Regions from separate parts of the Homo sapiens genome. Here region 2 is linked to region 1. Evidence: promoter capture Hi-C in 16 types of primary human blood cells and fetal thymus (Javierre and others, 2016). All regions are on one chromosome and are shown on one strand. Each heading gives the region's core, a stretch centred on a gene start or on the middle of the fragment in contact. The rest is flanking DNA. Distances are from core to core; before and after follow the strand shown. Region 1 holds the start of NEK9 (NIMA related kinase 9). Region 2 holds the start of NPC2 (NPC intracellular cholesterol transporter 2).

Region 1 (6,276 bases), core at 1,215-3,714:
GGGAGCAATTATCTATAGCTGGTCCCAGCTTCTAAAATGAAAATACTAAACTTGCCTCTAGTTTTATAAATTTAGACTTCCCTAGTGATTTTCACCTACCCTTTCTGGATAAGAGAAGTCATGACCCCTTTTGCAACTCTATAATCTCCTCTCATACTTTTATGTATCCTGTAGCTCCTGATGTCTACTATCTTTTTTTTTTTTTTTTTTTAAGAGATAGGGTCTCACTCTGTTGCCCAAACTAGAGTGCAGTCATAGCTCATTTCAGCTTTGAACTCCTGGGCTGAAGCAATCCTCCCACCTCAGCTTCCCCAGTAGTTGGGACTACAGGCACGCACTGCCACACTCAGCTAAATTTTTTTTTTTTTTTTTTAAGAGATGGGGTATCACTGTGTTGCCCAGGCTGGTCTAGAACTCCTGGCCTCAAGCGACCCGACCACCTTGGCCTCCCAGGTGTTGGGATTATAGGCATGAGCCACTGTGCCTCGCCTCATTCTTTGCTGACCCTGCTTCCTAGCCCAGGAGCATCTCCACCTATGTAACCCTCCCCATCCTTTTGAATGCCTCTGCCAAGCCTTTACAGTGTTTTTGAAAAGACTCTGATGAAGCTTTTACTGTAACCATGTCTTTAATTTTTAGACCCCATACACTGAAATGATATTTGTTCATTCTTTTCATATCTCTACATATGCAACTTAATGCTATTTGTTTACTAACAATGGTCAACTTATTTTCCTACTGAAATATAAGCTTCTAGAGAAAAAGAGTGCTTCTGAACTTTTGTAAATTCACAGATCTAATAAATATTTGGTGATATGGACAACGCTATGCAATTTTTGGGAAGTGTAATCAAATTTAACTCAAAACCAACCCAGTAATCAAGTTCAACAGGATAATAATAAAAAGGCAATGGGCAAGATGTGAGACTTTAGTTCTAGTCCAAGATTTACTTGTAACTTAAGTGAGCAAGTCACTTAAGTATACTGTTTTAGTTTCTCTAACTAAAATATAGAAATAACAATCCTTATCTCCTCTTTCTCATTTTGAGTGCAAAAAAGAAAACAGACTACTAAGAATAACTAACTCTAACATCATACATTAACGTGGCATCAGGATAAAAAAGAACACTTAAAAATATTCTCTTGCAACCACTTCTCTCCTTCTCCATCTTTCAGCCTTAAAAGTATGCTGGCTTGGAACACACACCAGAACTGCAGATGGATTTCCGACGGATGAATCACCTTCAGCAACCCCAGCAAGTTCTCATTAAATGTTTACCCTAAAGTAAGATTTTATGATCAAATCTAGTGTATCGTTAGTTTTTGGAAGTAGAATAATCACTGCAGGGTTTTACACTAGTATATATTAACTTGGGATTCCGTGATCCATGGATCTCTCCAAAGGATGTGCATATGTGCAAATGTGTTGATGGAGGGGGCAAGATTACTTTGCTTAGGTTATCAAAGGGGTCCTTGTGCCCCCCAAATTAAGAACTAATGGCTTAGAATATACCAACAAAGTATTTCCCATGCATAAACCCTGCAAGATAAACACTGATAAAGAACCAACACACAAAGATCTTCCCAATGAGCTTCAAGAAAAGCTTCCAACTGAGTGATCACTGCTGAACTTAAAGATAATGACAAAAATAACGGAGTTGCCACGGGTGTGGGGATTTTGAAGCTATGCCCCTCCTCCTCACCCCGACCTTGGAGAACTATATATACAGCATGAGAGGAAGGAAGTTTTGGCAATACCTCACATTCGTATACCACTTTAATTTACAGAACAGAGCCTTCGTTTGATTCTCAAGATAATCTTAAAAAAAAAAGAAAAAGATGATTTCAAGGTATTATCAGTAAGCCCATTTTACAGATGGGGAAACTAAAGCTCAAGAGACGGTTAGGTGACTTAGGACAATCAAAAATGACTAGTCAAACCAATGATCTAGCCAATTTCTAGTGCCGGTGAGTGGGAAGAGTGGTGAAGACCCTAAGACATATACCCCGTGGGCGCCTAAAGCACTAAGCTCACGACGCTGGGAAAGCGGGGCCGAGAAGGAGGGACTCGGGGCGACCCGACAGCGCCAGACAGGGCGGCCGGCGCCGAGGGCCGCTACCTCGGTGCGGCGGTACAGCGTGGCTTCCCCGAAGGCGCCGCGGCCCAGGACGCGGATGGGGATGTAGTGCAGTTCCTCCTGCTCCGCCGCGCCGCCGCCGGCTCGCGGCCCCTGACTGGCGCTAGGCCCCGGACTCGAGTCCCCGCAACCCCCGGACTCGCTCCCAAAGTCCGAGTTGATGGAATCGCAGTGTCGCTCGTACTCGCCCAGCACCGACATGGCGGCGGCCGCGGGCCTTGGGGACCAGCCTGCGTATGCCCGGAGGCCCTGGCCGCGCTGCGTCCCGCTCGCTTCAGATGCCGGCCCGCGGATCCGTCAGCCCAGCAACCCCGCGAAGCTCGATGGTGGCTCCTGCCCCCCGACCCGGAAACAGTTCTCTGTGTTTCCGGCCTGGCTGAGTTTCCTCCGCCTTTGCTTACCCTCTTGGCTAGTCTAGCGGCCAAGGCTTCCCGCTTTCGGGGAAGGCCTGCAAAGTGAGGCCTCGGGCTAGGGTTGGCGGGCGCGTGGTGGGAACCGCGTGGAACCGAAGGGCTCCCACGGGAACAAGGGCATCACTGACGGTACGGCCTCTCGGGTCTATTGACCCTTCTCTGCCTCCCCGGTCCGGACTCATACAACTTGGAGGCCCAGAGGTCGTCCAGTCTCATCTTGACGTCAGGTCTGTGACAAGAGGGTGATTGGGGAAGCATTCCCAGTGTACACCTTCTTCCCCATTCCAACGTTGGACAGCATTCTTTTTTAGAGAGATAGTATAGTAAAGATAATATGGCCGGGCAAGGTGGCTCACGCCTGTAATCTCAGCATGTTAGGAAGCCGAGGCGGGCGGATCACCTGAGGTCAGGCGTTTGAGACCAGCCTGACCAACTGGTGAAACCCCGTCTCTATAAAATACAAAAATTAGCCAGGCGTGGTGGCAGGCACCTGTAATCCCAGCTACTCCAGAGGCTGAGGCAGGTGAATCACTTGAACCCGGAAGGAGGAGGTTGCAGCGAGCCGAGATCGCGCACTACACTCCAGCCTGGATAACAGAGCGAGACTTTGTCTCAAAAAAAAAAAAAATAATAATAATATAGACAGCCTAAATGTCTGCCTCCGGTCATCTCGGTCCCTGGGCCGAGTTCTTTCTCCCAGGGCCATCCTAAGTCCCTCCCTCTTCTACACAACTCCAAAAATATTTTAAGTCAACTCTCCTGACACTTTCCTTCTCCCCCGTCTCTTTTTCCAGATTCAATTTATTCTATGTGTTTTTCCAGATATTTGACCATATGATATCATGAAACATTCTTTGAGCACTTGGTGCCACACACTGTTTGGGAACAGGAAATCTGCAATAATGTTCTCCCTACCGTCAAGTAGGAAAACAGCAATACGGTGAACAATAGGTGTTCCATCAGTTATGTGACCTTGGGCAATTATGTGACCTTGGGCAACTTCTCATCTCCAAGCTTGTTTTGTTGTGAGAATGTGGTCTACATCACAGACATAACAGCTAACATTTATTGAGTGTTATGTTCTGGGTACTATGCTAAAGGTTTTTTACGTATTATCTCACATTATTATGTATTATCCTATGTATTATGTATTATGTATTATCCTAACATTCCCATTTTACAGAAACAGAGGTACCTAAGTAACCTGCTTAATGTGACAGACCTAGTAAGAGGGAGCTGGGAAGTTGAACCCAGCAATCTGAAAAAGCAGGATGTGATGGGGCTAAGAGAAAGCCATGTGCCTAGCCGGGCGTGGTGGCTCACACTTGTAATCCCAGCACTTTGGGAGGGCCGATCACTTGAAGCCTGGAGTTCGAGTTCAGCCTGGCCAACATGGTGAAACCCCGTGTCCACTAAAAATACAAAAATTAGCCAGGCGTGCACACACCTGTAATCCCAGCTACTTGGGACGCTGAGGCACAAGAATTGCTTGAACTGGGGAGGCGGAGGTTGCGGTGAGCCAAGATCATGCCACTGCACTCGAGCCTGGGCAACAGAGTGAGAACCTGTCTCAAATACATAAAAATACATTGTGTCATATCGATTTGTGAAAAGTTCCTACTTTAAGAGAGCTTACATGTAACAGAAAACCACCAGGCAATTAAAACAGTTTCTATAAGGGCTATTAAAGTGCAAGATTCTAGAGAGGCATTTAGGAGTGGCATCTGTCCAAGCCAAACTTGCTGTGTGAGTGCAGGAATATACAAAATGTTAAGTCTAAACAAAGTAGAGAGATCATTTCAGGTAGAGGCCATTCCATCTACATCCTCCTATTAATTAGAAGGCACTTTGAGGATAGGTATTGCCTCTTGTTTATCTAGATAAACTCCAGAGTTTAGTTTGGCTTAAATCTGTTAATTCTATTAACTTAATTCTGTTATTCTCGATTAACTCTGTTAAACAGAAAAGATGCTCAATAAATTGTTTCTCAGTTGAATGGGAAAAAACCAATTACTTAAAATTGGGAATGCTGACTTTCAAAGAGGCTGAATAGATTTCAGCCTAAGCTTAAAAATTCATTTTTTTCTGGCACCTTTGCAACGAGGAACTAGTTTTCTATAACGTGGTTGGCCTGAAACTGAATTGTTCTAATGATAATGCATAGATACTACAAGCCTAGAAGAAACATGTCCTATTATAGAGCAGAGACATTCCTGCTGAATTCTTCATTATATTGGATATAACTGAAACTAATTGTCTTACCTTTGAATATTTATAAGTTCAAAAATAGTCAACATTTATTCTAATGGTATAACTTTTTTTTTTTTTTTGGAGACAGTCTCACTCTGTCACTCAGGATGGAGTGCAGTGGCATGATCTCAGCACACTGCAGCCTCCACCTCCCAAGTTCAAGTGATTCTCATGCCTCAGTCTCCTGAGTAGCTGGGATTACAAGCGTCCGCCACCATGCCCAGCTAATTTTTGTATTTTTAGTAGAGAGGGCATTCTGCCATGTTGGCCAGGCTGGTTCTCGAACTCCTGACCTCAAGTGATTGGCCTGCTAAAGTGTTGGGATTACAGGTGTGAGCCACTGCACCTGGCCAAGGTGTAAAATTTTAAAGCGCCTTTGGTTGAAACCAAACTATTTCCACATTGTACTTTAACAAGTGAATGGTTAGAATGCTATTTTGCATTAGTTTCCAATTTGTGAATGGCAAATTCCCAGGGGCCATAGAGTTACTGTCAAGATGAAAGAATCTACCAAAGACCAACCCAAGTTTATACCCTTCACTGTCTGCCACGGTAGCCATTAGCTACATATAGCTACTCAACACTTGAATTGTGGCTAGTCTAATTTTAAGCTATAGATGCGGTATAGCTTGAAATGCACACTGGATTTTCAAGATTTTATATGAAAAATGGAATGCAAAACATCTCATTAACCATTTTTATATTAACTATATGTTGAAATAATATTTTGGGTATATTAGGTTAAATACACTACTAAAAATAATTTTCGGCTGGGCACAGTGGCTGATGCCTATAATTCCAGCACTTTGGGAGGCCAAGGTGAGCAGACCACGAGGTCAGGAGTTCGAGACCATCCTGGCCAACATGGTGAAACCCCATCTCTACTAAAAATACAAAAATTACCTGGGCGTGGTGGCATGTGCCTGTAATCCCAGCTACTCGGGAGGCTGGAGAATCAGCAAATTTTACCTGTTTTTTACTTCTTTAATGTGATACTAGAAAATTTAAAATTATACATGCAGCTCAACATTTTATGAGACACCACTGCAGCAGACTAAATAAATGATTTATAAAGCATGTATTGGGCCGGGCACGGTGGCTCACGCCTGTAATCCCAGCACTTTGGGAGGCTGAGGTGGGTGGATCACGAGGTTGGGAGTTCAAGACCAGCCTGGCCAACATAATGAAACTCCATCTCTACTAAAAATACAAAATTAGCTGGGCGTGCTGGTACATGCCTGTAATCCCAGCTACTCGGGAGGCTGAGGCAGGAGAATTGCTTGAACCCGGAAGGCGGAGGTTGTGGTGAGCCGAGATCATGCCATTGTACTCCAGCCTGGGCAACAAGAGTGAACTCCGTCTCAAAAAAAAAAAAAAAGAAAAGAAAAAAAAATTATACCCCAATAATGGGAACCACTACTTTACACACTATGGATTCATAATAAAATTTATTTGAGGGAGAATGGAGATAAGAGG
Region 2 (6,156 bases), core at 3,415-5,914, 630 kb before region 1:
GAGGCAGAGGTTGCAGTGAGCCGAGATTGCGCCACTGCACTCCAGCCTGGGTGACAGAGCAAGACTCTGTCTCAAAAAATAAAATAAAATAAAATAAGACTGATTCCAGAAGCCTACTCACTTCCGAGTAAGCAGACTATGGAATTTAAGAGGAACTACCACTTAACACTGAACAGAGGAGTGACCCTAAACAGAAAAACCACCTACCATCTCTGAACTAGGAATGACCCTTAAGAGAGGAACTACCTCCCACTTCTGAATTGGGAACTGCACCATTTTCACTGCACTTCTGCAGTTTCTTCAATGATTTAGTCCTGTTCTTTAAGGCCCACTTATGAGTCATGAAATATTTTGGCTCCAAAAACAACAGGAAGTACCTTAAATCTTGACTAAGGTTGTTAAGATCTGGATTTTTTCCAAGAATCAAGGGGATGAAGAGGAGTACAGAGGTTAAGGTCTTTATAGTTTCAGTACAAGCTTAGGGCACAAGTTAAGCTTAACTCCAAATAGCACTGACTCACACAGCCAAGATGGCAGAAGTGCCAGCTGCATTAAAGAAGAATACTGCTACCTGAGTCTGGGTTTCATTTCCTCTGAAATATTAACTTGGCCTAGGTCTATATAGCTGCTGGGAATGATACACTTGCAAATACTGCATATGTTAAAAACATAAGGATGAGACCTAAGAAGGTACTAGAAAGAGTCAGAAATAGGATTTATCCCTGGGAATCCTCAAAACAAATACATATTTTTCAAAATTAAAAAATTTAAGAAAAGAAATTGGATTCATCTGACTTGTCCAGGTTGTTTCTAAGTAGTTTCAAAAACTGATTTTAAGCACACATCTGCAATCTACAGATGTATACTCGATTTTGGGAACCTGCGTTCTTAAAATAAGTGTGTGTGTGTGTGTCTGTGTGTGTATGTATGTATTTTAATCTCAGTCTAACCAAGGACAAAAGTACTTGTATACAATAAATGCTTGACCAAAAAAGGTTTAAATAAAGCCTTTAAAAATCCCATTTCCTCCTGCCCCAGAGACTGGGCAGTTGAATGGGAGAGAATGCAGGTGAACTGCCTGATAACAGTGCCTGTAACAGGGTAAGTTAAGTTCTGCCATTCAGCCATCATTGCTGAGAGGCAGACTCTGGTGCCGGATGCCTGGGTTTGAAATCTCACTATCTCTGCTACTTACTGTATAGCCTCAAGGCAAGATACTTTACCTCTCTGGAGATAATGGTGTAGCTGAGCTAACACAAATACAGATCTTAGGTAAGTGTTTGGAACATAGTGATACATATATTTACTATTATTATCATATCTGGATTTAGTCCATGAGTTTAATCTAGAATAGCTGCTCCTGGGTAGGTTAGCAAGTTCCCTTCTGACACAAAAACTGGACCTCTCACCTCAAATATACTTTGTGGATAGAAATTATGTTTCTAGCCAATAGGATGGACTCTTTCTGTCTCAAAAGTGGAATGCATGAAGACAGAGGCAAACTGCAGGTTGAGAGTACATTATCTGCTATGCAGTCAGTCACCAGATTAGCTCAGTACTATAAAAGTATGATATGAACTCAGAAATCTAAGTAGATGTTCTTTGCTGCCTGTACCTACCCTTGGGTGGAACAGTCTCTTTAACTATCATCACACTGACCAACACTGCTCCAGCTAGGTCAGTAAATAGTACCTTGCAGTCCTTTATCCCTCAGCTTGCTTCTCCATCATTGCAAAGTTCTTAAACTGCACACACTCTTAAGCATCCAAAACAGTTTGAGAAACACTCTCTTCCACTCCAACCCATTTTTGGTGAATAGGGAAAAAAGAAATCCCGAACTTCAATCAACAATCTATTGAAAATCAGTGCTAATGTTAAGGCTTTCAATGTCCAGCTTCCACCTGCTTCTTTCAAGGCTGAGTCACATAATCTAGTAGGAAGTAAGTAAAGGGTAGTACTTATAGCTCTTTCATCCAGTTTTCTGATGACAAGAGGTTCTTAGACTTCCAGTGTCAATAGAACAAACTCCTCTGTTCTAACCAGCAAACATTACAAAATTAGTTTGCTTGGTCCACTTTCTCACTTGAGGAAATCCCACGCCAGGGAAGGTGGGTGTAGAGTGGAACACAAAAATCTTTGATGTGGGCACTGAAGTCTTTATATCATATTTCCCAATTCAAAAGTAAATTATAAATCTGTAACTGAAACCCTTCTTCCCTTTAAAAGCTTCTTCCCATAGGTGTACTCCTGCTTTTTCAAATAAGTAGAATAATTTCTGGATTTATTTCCCTTCTTTTTTTGGAAACCCAAAGTGGCTCACAAAGACCCACGGTTTCCTACCACTTACTGGGTGTGAGATCTTGGGCAAGTTACTCTATGTGCTTCGCTTTCCTCATCTGTAAGACAGCTTGTGAGGATGGAATGAGTTATTTTATTTTATTTTATTTTTTTGAGACGGAGTCTTGCTCTGTCGCCAGGCTGGAGTGCAGTGGCGTGATCTTGGCTCACTGTAACCTCCACCTCCCGGGTTCAAGCGATTCTCCTGCCTCAGCCTCCCGAGTAGCTGGGACTACAGGTGCACACTACCATGCCCAGCTAATTTTTGTATTTTTAGTAGAGATGGGGTTTCACCATGTTGGCCAGGATGGTCTCAATCTCTTGACCTCGTGATCTGCCCGTCTTGGCCTCCCAAAGTGCTGGGATTACAGGTGTGAGCCACTGTGCCTGGCCGGAATGAGTTATTAAAATTAATAGTGTCTTCATCCAAACGCTGGCTACTAAGTTTAATGGAGGGAAAGGCAGTAATTTGAAGCGATAATAGCTTTCAAGTGCCAGTCTCCTAAATCAATGGAATAGCATTTAAGTGTTAATCGGCCAGCACTCCATTCCTTAATCAATCCTGTCCCCTAATCCCCAACTTTGCTTTTGTCTCAACATGAATTTTTATGACATAGGGGAAAAAGATTTCCATCTATGTTTTCAACACATTTCATTGAGCAGTTACTATTACCTGGGCACTGGATATAAAGCAGCAAACTTATGAAACCGCCTTTGCAAAAATCCTGAGGAAATTAAGACAGTGAAAGAGATCAGGACTCACCTACCCATCTTCCTTCTAACCTCTAAACTGTCTTTGTTCATTCCTGGGTGTAGGCTGAACTAGTCTTGGAGAGGAATTTATAGTTTAAACTCTGAAACGAAATGGATAATAGCCCTTTCCTGAAAAACCCCTTCTTGCCTGGGGACCGGTCTGCCTTTGTAGGACTAACAAATTAGCTACGAGTTTAGGGGCCACGCCGCCTCTGGCTGTAAGAGTCTGAACCTCCCCAAATTGCTCCTGGTAATGATATCACTATTGTAAAACCTAAGGTCAGTGCTTGAGATATTTTGCAGATCCTGCATTCCGATGCAGCAAATGACACCACCCAGAGGTCAGCAAGAAGAACTCACTTCGACTCTCCTATGATTTTATCTTCAACCTGACCAATCAGCACTCCCCACTTTCCAAGCCCATACCCGCCAAATTATCCTTAAAAACTCTGATCCCCGAATGCTCGGGGAGACTGATCTGAGTAACAATAAAACTCCGGCCTCCCCCACAGCCGGCTCTGCGTGAATTACTCTTTTCGCCACTGCAAATCCCATCTTGATAAATCCGCTCTGTCTAGGCAATGCGCAAGGTGAACCCCTTGGGCGGTTACACTTACTCTGGCTCCCCATTCTGCTGCGTGACTTTAGGTAGGCTACCCAACATCCCTGGAATTCAATGATTGATTATACGATCTCCGTGCTTCCTTTCCACTCATAGATCTTACAAAGTCAGTTTCATGCCTCTTTCATTGACAGTTCTATCTCTCTATCTCCACCTCTGAACAACATTGCTCGAGTTTCTGTTCCGACAATTCTATAGACTCGACTCAATGAAGGCACTCAGAATTTCTACCACCTGTTGTATTTTCCAACAAAGATTCCAACCACAGCGGCGAGAGGGAGTTATGTATCACAAGCTGTGATTAGAGACACAATGAGATTTATACAAGGAAAAACTGATTAAGAATCACAAGATTCCAAAGCCCAAAGGAAGTCCTATTTGTAACAATAAATGATGAAAAAGGGGAATTGACTTTTGACTTGTCAGCAAAAACGAAATTAAAAGAAAAGCAAAAGGAGTTGGAAGGGGGAGGCGGGATTCCAAGATACAAAGCATAAATAAAAAGAAGTTCTGTGCTCCACCCCTCCACCAGAGCTGGATACAGCCCTTCTGTTGTCCGCCCTACAAACTTTAGGAAACTTCAGCAAAAGGCCCACCTCCTGGAGTTCCCAGGAACCCCAAAACACGCGTTCTAAGGAAAGAAACAAAGTTGTGCGCGGTCGGGTTTCATGGAGGCCGGCGCCTTCTCCCCCGACCCAGCCCATTCCAGTTAGGTAGGGTCCAAGGCTCAGCCTGGCCGCCCGAGGGATCCGCCCAGCCCAGCCCCAGGGGTCTCAGCGCGGGGGTCCGGCGGGGCCTTCCACAGAGGGCGCGGGAACCTTGGGCGGGCCTGGGGCTCACCGCAGTCCTTGAACTGCACCGGTTCGGCCTGGGCAGCGGTGCTGAGCGCCAGGAGCAGGAATGTAGCTGCCAGGAAACGCATCGCGGATAACGAAGTTCCAAGCTCGGGAAAGAAGCAGCGGCCGCCCGCGGTCACAAGACAAACCTGTCGGGGCGGGCCCGGGGAGGAGCCCAGTCAGGCGACCTGTCACCAGTAACCACAGCTGAGGCCCGCCCGCGCCCCGCCCCCGGCTCCGGAAAGCCAGCTCCAGCCCTCTCAGGCCCAGAAGCCTGCAGTCTCCGCCCATGCCATCCCCTCAGAGGCCTGACCCGCCCGGACCCACCTCCGCCCCGCCCCGCCTCACTCCTCCCCGCCCCGTTCCTTCCCTTTAGAGCACCTCTCCGGCTTCCTGGGTGCGTCCCCGCCGCTGCCGTCTGGAGCATTCCTAGCCAATCAGACACCTTCTCCTCCCGCACTACCCAATAGGCATGTTGGGGGGGCGGGGCCTCCGTGAAGTCCCGGCCTCCTGTTCGTTCTCTCCGCCTCCCGAGGCCCCGGGTGAGAAACGGGGGAGACGCGAGGGGCGGAGCTTGTGGAGGAAGATGGCTGCCGCCTGGGGGTCGTCCCTAACGGCCGCGACGCAGAGAGCGGTCACTCCCTGGCCGAGGGGCAGGTACCAAGACTAGAAAGGCACCTGGAAAGGGTGTTTGGTTCTGCGCCTCTAGGACAAATGGGAAACTAAGGCCTGTGGGGGATGCGAGGGTTTGGTGGGAGGCCGTCCAGGTGGGGGTCGCCAGGTTTAGCGTGAGGCGCTCCAGGTCGAGGGTTGCAAGGTGCCCCTTCTGCTCCCGGGCTCACCCTCCTCCCTTGCGCGCAGGCTCCTCACGGCCTCCCTGGGACCCCAGGCGCGTCGGGAGGCGTCGTCCTCCAGCCCCGAGGCCGGCGAAGGGCAGATCCGCCTCACAGACAGTTGCGTCCAGGTAGGAGGCCGGACGCGGAGCGGCGGTACCCAGGCGATTGGCGGGAGCAGCGGGAACTGCTCTTCACTCAGCCCTTTAACTCCCGTTTCCCGCTATTCTTGATCCCCCTTCCTGCATTTCAGAGGCTTTTGGAAATCACCGAAGGGTCAGAATTCCTCAGGCTGCAAGTGGAGGGAGGTGGATGCTCCGGATTCCAATACAAATTTTCACTGGATACAGTTATCAACCCCGACGACAGGCAAGGAGGAAGGGGTGGGCCCCCAAAGGAGGTACAGGAGGGACAAAAGTGTCTCCAGTTTAAGGTGCACTTTTATTCCAAATTTAAAGGGTTTACCTGGGATGGTTAACACCGCCCGTCTCACAGTGAGGATGCAGTAAAGGTTTGTTGTTCTGAATCAAAGTAACTAAGTTATAGGAGCAAAATTGATCTGCCCAGGTCCATTGGGTAGTCGGTAGAAAGTCAGGCCGGACTAGATTCCAGGCTTAAGTCCCTACACGTTTCCCAGTATTTATTCCATTGAATCATTTTGCCTCAAAGAAAATCAGCACCTGTTAAAGGTAATGGGGAAGCTCCCTCTGTACTTTAGAAAACAGAGGATGTGCACCTCTGGGCTCAGGGGGTGTCTTTTTTGTGTTTGCGATAC

The links. Contacts are between HindIII fragments. The CHiCAGO score rates a contact against its expected background, and 5 or more counts as called.
Region 2: the fragment with the promoter of NPC2 here is called in contact with the fragment with the promoter of NEK9 in region 1 in 4 of 17 cell types (naive CD8 T cells, total CD8 T cells, naive CD4 T cells and 1 more); the score reaches 7.3 in naive CD8 T cells.

The regions. Positions count from the first base shown.
Region 1 is chr14:75,124,584-75,130,859 of GRCh38, forward strand. NEK9 (NIMA related kinase 9) reads right to left here and starts at 2,465. Exons shown (of 22, transcript NM_033116.6): 1 at 2,120-2,465. The coding sequence starts at 2,338. RefSeq lists enhancers at 2,329-2,378, 2,389-2,518. The HindIII fragment of the contact is 1,961 bases long and covers 1,602-3,562 here.
Region 2 is chr14:74,488,641-74,494,796 of GRCh38, forward strand. It overlaps NPC2 (NPC intracellular cholesterol transporter 2), which reads right to left and starts at 4,665. Exons shown (of 5, transcript NM_006432.5): 1 at 4,553-4,665. The coding sequence starts at 4,634. It overlaps ISCA2 (iron-sulfur cluster assembly 2), which reads left to right and starts at 5,125. Exons shown (of 4, transcript NM_194279.4): 1 at 5,125-5,205; 2 at 5,410-5,512; 3 at 5,635-5,750. The coding sequence starts at 5,135. RefSeq lists enhancers at 1-349, 5,128-5,207 and silencers at 4,418-4,477, 4,648-4,927. The HindIII fragment of the contact is 4,485 bases long and covers 2,225-6,156 here.